Linked DNA regions of Homo sapiens: region 1 is linked to region 2. Evidence: promoter capture Hi-C in human tissues and cell types (Jung and others, 2019). All regions are on one chromosome and are shown on one strand. Each heading gives the region's core, a stretch centred on a gene start or on the middle of the fragment in contact. The rest is flanking DNA. Distances are from core to core; before and after follow the strand shown. Region 1 overlaps RAD9B (RAD9 checkpoint clamp component B). Region 2 holds the start of IFT81 (intraflagellar transport 81).

Region 1 (4,052 bases), core at 414-2,913, 400 kb before region 2:
ATAAAAAAATCATAATTTATTCTTGGAAACAAGTGACCCAAACCTCTACTTGAATATGCTTTGTTAGAAATTACTGACTGAACAATTTAACTATTTTCTATTGATATTCTGTAAATCAGACTTTTCTCTATCAGACTTTTCTTCATTCTATAATTCAGACTAGCTTCACTTTTCCCCTATCAAAAAATAAGAAAATCAATTTTCAGAACATGGCTGGGTGGGGATTGGGGAGGAAGACTGCAAAGGGAGACAGATGAGAATTCTTGACTGAGATGTGGTTGAATCTCAATGCTTTTACCTTTCTGAGACACAGAGACCCTGGCACTTCCTCTGTGTTGCTGACACTGCTTTCTGATACTTCACTGACATCTCCATCCACTCTTTTCATTGCAGGGCTGCCACAGTTTTCCAATGCAGATATGTTTGTGAGAGTCTCCTTAGGATAAAGCCTTCTTGGTGCTGCTTTTTTTGAAATACATTCCAGGGCCTGGCCAGTTACATTTTTGCCAGCCTTTTTTTCAATCAGATCTGACCTGAGGTATTAATAGGCATTAAATGAATGAACTGTTTATTGTGAAATATATTTTTATATAACTAATGGACAATGTGGGATGACAATGATAGCACTGGATTAGGGAATATATTGAAATACATGGAACTAAATTGTTGCAAGTTAAAATTTATATATATGATCATTTATAAATTCTCTTGACAGACAATCTTTCAGTAAAGCAACTCATTGTGCATAGAATATCTTGTGATATGGTAACAGGAGCAAGTTAGGGGAAAAGTCAAGTAAATTACTATACATCTATATGATAAAATTGTGTACAGTCATTAAGAATCATGTTTTCGGCCGGGCACGGTGGCTCACGCCTGTAATCCCAACACTTTGGGAGGTCAAGGGGGGTGGATCACGAGGTCAGGAGTCCAAGACCAGCAGGGCCAAGATGGTGAAACCTCGTCTCTACTAAAAATACAAAAAAATTAGCCGGGCGTGGTGGCAGGCACCTGTAATCCCAGCTACTCTGGAGGCTGAGGCAGAAAACTGCTTGAACCCAGGAGGCGGAGGTTGCAATGAGCTGAGATGGCGCCACTGCACTCCAGCCCGGGTGACAAAGCGAGACTCTGACTCAAAAAAAAAAAAAAAAAAAGAATTATGTTTTCAAGTCATTATCAGTGATATTGAAACACACCCACAATACCAAAACCGCATATGCTCTATGATCCTAATCTTGTTTTAAAATACAAGGATAGGCCGGGTGCAGTGGCTCACATCTGTAATCCTAGCACTCTGGGAGGCCGAGGCAGGTAGACTGCTTGAGCCCAGGAGTTAAGAGACCAGCCTGGGCAACATGGTAAAACCCGATCTCTACAAAAAACACAAAAATTAGCTGGGTGTGGTGGCAGGTGCCTGTAGTCCTGGTTACTCAGGAGGCTGAGGTGGAATGCTTCAGCCTGGGAGGTTGAGACTATGATGAGCTATGACTGTGCTACTGCACTCCAGCCTGGGTGACAGAGTGAGACCCTGTCTCAAAAAATTTTTTTAAAAAATTTGAAAATACAAGTATACACAAAATTAAGTCTGAAAGAAAATGCAGTGAGCCAGAATGTTACAGTGGCTATCTCTGGGTGATGCAATTATGAGTAAGTTTTATTTTCTTCTTTGTACTTTTCTCTATTTTCCAAATTTCCTGAAATAACTTTTACAATAAAGCATCATTCTTCCCCCAAAAGAAAAGAAATTAAGAAAGAAAAAAAAGCCAGGCGCAGTGGCTCATGCTTGTAATCCCAGCGCTTTGGGAGGCTGAGGCGGGCAGATCACAAGGTCAGGAGTTCGAGACCAGCCTGACCAACATAGTGAAACCCCGTCTCTACTAAAAACACAAAAATTAGCCAGGCGTGTTAGTGCACACATGTCATCCCAGCGACTAGGGAGGCTGAGGCAGGAGAATTGCTTGAACCCAGGGGGTGGAGGTTTTAGTGAGCTGAGATCATGCCACTGCACTCCAGCCTGGGCAACAGAGTGAGATTCTGTCTCAAAAAAACAAAAAAAAAACAACAAAAAAAAAAAAAAAAAAGAAAGCAAGAAAGCAATGGCTATCCCTATATCTGAGCAAAAGTTCTAGGAAGTGAATATAGACTTTCCTGTGAAAACACTATATTACCCCTAAAAAAAAACAAAAAAAAAAACTAAAGGCCCGATGTGGTGACTCACACCTGTAATCCCAGCACTTTGGGAGGCTGAGGCAGGTGGATGGCTTCAGCCCAGAAGTTTGAGACCAGCCTGGGCAACATGGTGAAACCCTGTCTCTACAAAAAAAAATACAAAAAATTAGCTGGGTGTGGTGGCACATGCCTATAGTCCCAGCTACTTGGGAGGCTGAGGTGGGAGGACCACTTGAGCCAGGGAAATGGAGGCTGCAGTGACTTGAGATTGCGCCAGAGCACTCAAGCCTGGGCAATGGGAGTGAGACCTTGTCTAAAACAATAACAACAACAACAACAACAACAAAAACTAAAAATTGGAATTGAGTTCTGGGAAACAACACAGATAAACCAGACAGTCTTGTTCAATTCTGGTCAGAACAGAAAAAGCAAATATCTGACACGAGATTGGTGATGTTTCTATGCTACAGGTAAGTTTCACTACAGCTCTTCTGTATTCAGTCAAAATTTGTTAACTAATATTTCACTCCTCAATTGTTTCCTAAGTGAATGCAAGTGAATTATTTCAAAATAAGATTATGATGGCTTGTCCCAAGTAATAAAGAAGTTAAAACACAGTCTTACCTTTTTCGTTTCTGTGAAAGACACAGTGACTGTGGTGAAGATGCTCTACTTTGTTCATCAGCTAATGTGGCCAAAATAAAGTTAGCTTCCACTAACATATCATCAATACTCAAAGCCAGAGGTCTAAAAAAGCCAAGTCAGAGCAACAGTGACACTCATTTTCTGATGGACATTAGAAACACATTAGAAATGATACTTAATTCTGGACTAAAAAGAAACAGGGGAGGCCAAGGCGGGTGGATCATCTGAGGTTGCGAGTTTGAGACCAGCCTGACCAACATGAAGAAACCCCGTCTCTACTAAAAATACAAAAAAAAAATTAGCCGGGCATGATGGTGCATGCCTGTAATCCCAGCTACTCAAGAGGCTAAGGCAGAAGAATCACTTGAACCTGGGAGGCGGAGGTTGCAGTGAGCTGAGATTGCACCATTGCACTCCAGCCTGGGCAACAAAAGCAAAACTCCATCTCAACAACAACAACAACAACAACAACAACAACAACAACAAACAGTAGGCCGGGTGCTATGGCTCACGCCTGTAATCCCAGCACTTTGGGAGGCCGAGGCTGGTGGATCTCTTGAAATCAGGAGTTCAAGGCCAGCCTGGCCAACATGGTGAAACCCCGTCTCTACCAAAAATACAAAAATTAGCCAGGCATGGTGGTAGACGCCCGTAATCCCAGCTACTTGGGAGGCTGAGGCAGTAGAATTGCTTGAACCCGGGAGGCAGAGCCTGCAGTAAGCCGAGATCATGCCACTGCACTCCAGCCTGGGCGACAGAGTGAGACTCCGTCTGAAAAAAGAAAAAAGAAAATTTTAAATGCCATGTTTTAGCATCTTTCAAAATTTTAGTTTGATAAGTATTAATAGTAAAGTTTAGGTATTCCTGAGGTGTTAATTAATTTCAAAGTGATCCAAAAGGTTTTGTTATTGATATAAAACAAAAGAAACAAGCTCAGAAAAATTCTCAAGGACCTACTTCCCAGGGAAATCAAAATAAATGGATATAGGAGCATGTGTAGCTTCTGAAAATGTCAGTATTCCCTGAAAAAAGAAAAGAAGAAAAAAACTTAAAATCCTTATAAAAACTTACAGTGAAAATTTGAATTTTAAATTGATACAAATCTTTATTTACCTTCAATTCTTTGAAACAAAATGTTATCTCAGTGTCCATTCCAATTTGAAAGAAGTCAAACTCATCTGAGCCAACAAACATCTCACTGTGTACAGCATTGCTCAAATCTGTTTAATATTATGGGA
Region 2 (3,911 bases), core at 734-3,233:
CTTTATCTGTGCTTCTCTCCTAGCACTACTTTTGATCTTGTGCTTTTTTTTTTTTTTTTTTTGAGACGGAGTCTCGCTCTGTCGCCCAGGCTGGAGTGCAGTGGCGCGATCTTGGCTCACTGCAAGCTCCGCCTCCCAGGTTCAAGCCATTCTCCTCCCTCAGCCTCCCAAGTAGCTGGGACTACAGGCGCCTGCCAGCACGCCTGGCTAATTTTTTGTATTTTTAGTAGAGACGGGGTTTCACCGTGTTAGCCAGGATGGTCTGGATCTCCTGACCTCGTGATCCGCCCACCTTGGCCTCCCAAAGTGCTGGAATTACAGGCGTGAGCCACCGCGCCTGGCCGATCTTGTGCTAGTTCTTTAGGTACGCATCTTCTCTTCCCTGCTAAACTGTAAATTCCGTATCTGTGTCCAATTCCATTTTTGAACATCCATTGTGTCTAAAACAGTGATTCCTTCCACTAGATTGAATGAACTTGTTCACAGGCACAAGTACAACATAAGCCTAAATCTAAAGGAAATCAGGCTGGCAGTGAGAAAGATCATAACTTTTTAAAAAACTGAATATCTGATTTATTAACTGCTGAAACAGCTTTACCTAGGTAAATGCTTTAAGGATTAAAAATGAATTAAGCAATGAGTTGCTGCCGGGAGCTGTCGTTCTCTCCTGTAATCCCAGTACTTTGGGAGGCCGAGGCAGGCAGATCACTTGAGGTCAGGAGTTCGAGGCCAGCCTGGCCAACATGGTGAAACCCGGTCTCTACTAAAAATACAAAAATTAGCCAGGTGTGGTGGCGGGCGCCGGTAGTCCCAGCTACTTGGGAGGCTGAGGCAGGAGAATTGCTTGAACCCGGGAGGCGGAGGTTGCAGTGAGCCGAGATCGCGCCACTGCACTCCAGCCTGGGGGACAGAGAGAGACTCCGTCTCAACAGAAAAAATAAAATAAAAAAGATAATTTCTCCACAATGATGAAAAATTACGCACAAATAATTATTATTGCTAAGAAATAAGTCAAAAGAGGATAGGAAGGATAACCACCATGGCTTATAATAAATCTGAGGTTTCCTTTAAGCTATAAAAGGAAAACCTTTACGTAAGTTTTTTTTTAAAATCCATATTGGAAGTGCAAGTTTTCCATTGTTTAAAGTATTTTAAGTAAAAGTCCACGTCATAACCTTTGCGTGCAGAAATATGTATTTCATTTTAAATGATTTAGAAATTATCTATAGGTCTACTCTTTTTTCCCTTAAAAAAAAATCTGGATAAACTAGTACAACGTTTCCAGGAAGGCAAAATAAACCAGTTGGGTTCCCCCCAAGTCGCCCACCAGCCTGCAAAAATGGTCACTCGATAAGGACAAAGATGTACTGAACAGGAAGGCTGTCTGTGCCCAGCGGGCTCTGCGCTCTAAAATTAGCAAAAGCAATTACTGTCCCTCTTCTAGCGCGAAGTCGCCGCGCTAATTCCCAAGCACTCACCCACAAACGAGTCGCAGGAGGCGGGGAACAATGAAAACCAGGACGTGCGTGTTCTCTGGCACAATTTGGGAGAGAAACCGTGCTGCCTGGGTCCCAGGCTGGCACGAGCATCGACCCGCAGCCTCCTGGGAGTACCAGAAATAGTGTCCCCCTCCCCGGGCTCGGGACAGGGGACAGGGGACCCCACACCCGACCGGGCCTCTAGCGGGGGCTGCCCTGGGCCCCTCGACAGTTCATCCCTCCAGGGAGCGGCCTGGATCCGCTCGAATCCCAGAAGGGGCCCGATTCCCCTATCCGGGGGCTTAACCGCGACGACCCCTTCCACTTGCGAGGTGCTGCATCAGGACCGAGAGAGGACGGGAGCTCTCTCCTATTTCGGGGTTCAGAGGAGCTTCCGACCGCGAGTTGGCGAGGTTACCTCAAATTCTCCTCACGAAACCGTTTCCCCACCCCCCAGGAGGCGCCCGGGCTCTAGACCGCTCCCAGAGTCGAGCTCCTTGGCAACGGTTGCTAGGCCGTAGAGTTACGTCACTTCCGGGCGAGCGGCCGCTCTCCCGCGCGCGCGCGCACGAGCTGGGGGGCGGGGCCGGGCCAGGGCGGGGAGGACGGGCGCGGGGCGGAGCGGACGGGGCGGGGCGGGGCGGAGCGGACGGGACGGGGCGGGACGGGGCGGGGCGGACGGGGCGGACGGGAGCCGGGCTTACTTGCAAAGCGGGCCCACGTGCTGAGCCACTGCAGACAGCCGAGGGCATTTGGGACTGTTACTCCGACCTAGACGCGCTACAATAAGCTTCCCGAAAGTCCTGCACTTCGCAGTTTACAAAATACTCTCTGCATGATTAACCTATGTTAAATGCGTGTGATGTTTCATTCATTCATTCATTCATGCATGCATGCATGCATTCATGCGCCAAACGTGGGTGATGATTTTTGTTTGTTTTTGAGGCAGGGCTGGGTGGTAGGGGGGTTGGGATGAGCAAGCATTTGGCCAGTGCTTCAAATTTAGGTTTTTGACATAAGTATCTCCAAATTAGGTTATGCATAGGAACAATTGTAGTGAGGCTCTGGCAGGATTAAAAGAAGACACATTCATCATAGAGATTTCAGCTTCTGTGTCACATTACTGGGCCACATTGCCTGTACTGGGAATTAAATTTTTTTAAACCCAATACGTTTTGAGTATGCTGAGAGCCTGAAAGGGGGTGTGGGAGAACTAAGTGTCCTAATGTTCCTTTGGCTTCTGAGTGGGCTCTCTTTAGGTGACTGCAGAAATAAATTAAATCCTCCTTGTGGTCTTCATGGAGTTCACATCCCACGCAGGACGCAGGGAGATCTTTGTGCCCAGTCACTGATGAGGTTTAAAAGTCTACTGGAATTTGCACTAGCTGGTTTGTGGGAGACCTTAGTTGGCAAATGGTATTTTGAACCAACCTCTATTAGACTAGAGACCACGATACTTAGTGATATCAGCTGGCAATGAAAGAAAGAGAAGGAAAAAAAATCAAATTATTGATACCTTGAAAACTTAGTTGCCTGCTCAAACAGCATAGGAGAAACCAACTATAGCTTTAGCATCAGACTTACCACAACAAAAAATAACAGATTACGTATTAGGCATTTCCTATATGCCCTGTACTGTACAGGCTGCTGGAAATGCAGAAGGGCAGGACTTACCTGGCCCCTGCCCTGATGGAGCTGACAGTCTAGTGCCGGCAGAGATTATTAAAGGGGCAACACCAATACAATTGAGATAAATGCTGTAACAAGAGAAGCCAATGATTAGGAGCCCAGATTAAGGGCCTCAAGTTTATTTGGGGAGGGTGGTGCCAAAGGGGCCATACCATCAGGAAAGTTTCTGTCAAATGGAGTGATGTTTAAGGATCAGTAAAAATTAGGCCTGGCACCGTGGCTCACGCCTGTAATCTCAGCACTTTGAGAGACCAAGGCAACAAGATAACTTTGAGCCCAGGAGTTCAGGATCAGCCTGGGTAACAGAGCAAGACCCTTTCTCTACAAAAAATTAAAAGCAAAAATTGGTCAGGGGTGGCACCATTGCACTCCAGGCTGGGCAACAGAAGGAGACCCCCATCTCTTAAAAAGGATCAGTAAAAATTAGCCAAACAGGAAAAGGGAGAGTGTTTTGGGCAGAGGCAACACAACATTCCAAGACCAGTCCCTTTGTTGGCTGCCCTCTGACTGTTGAAATATCAAGCGTAGGTACCCTGCAGGGCTCCTGGAGAGAAACTAAAACTGGCCCCACCCCACAACCAATTAGGGGAAGCAACACTCAAAACCTCAAAGAATTAAATAACTTACATAATACTGACAGAAACAATACAAGATTTGTAGAAGGGATTATATAATTCATTGATCCTGTTGGGTGTGTTAGGAGACATCCCTGGCTACCTGGGTTTGAATTCTGCATCTGCCATT

What was found. The method cuts DNA at HindIII sites, captures the fragments that hold promoters and counts their contacts. A contact is called where the count stands out against the background at its distance.
Region 1: a contact is called between a fragment that was not itself captured here and the fragment with the promoter of IFT81 in region 2, in 1 of the 25 tissues and cell types used here (hippocampus).

The regions. Positions count from the first base shown.
Region 1 is chr12:110,518,658-110,522,709 of GRCh38, reverse strand. RAD9B (RAD9 checkpoint clamp component B) reads right to left here. Exons shown (of 11, transcript NM_001286535.2): 7 at 3,928-4,034; 8 at 3,772-3,836; 9 at 2,794-2,916; 10 at 299-533. Among named protein-coding and RNA genes, the nearest start is that of RAD9B, 18 kb to the right of the region's middle. The HindIII fragment of the contact is 3,878 bases long and covers 1-3,602 here.
Region 2 is chr12:110,122,429-110,126,339 of GRCh38, reverse strand. It overlaps IFT81 (intraflagellar transport 81), which reads right to left and starts at 1,983. Exons shown (of 19, transcript NM_014055.4): 1 at 1,479-1,983. RefSeq lists a silencer at 1,900-2,169. The HindIII fragment of the contact is 7,034 bases long and covers 1-3,872 here.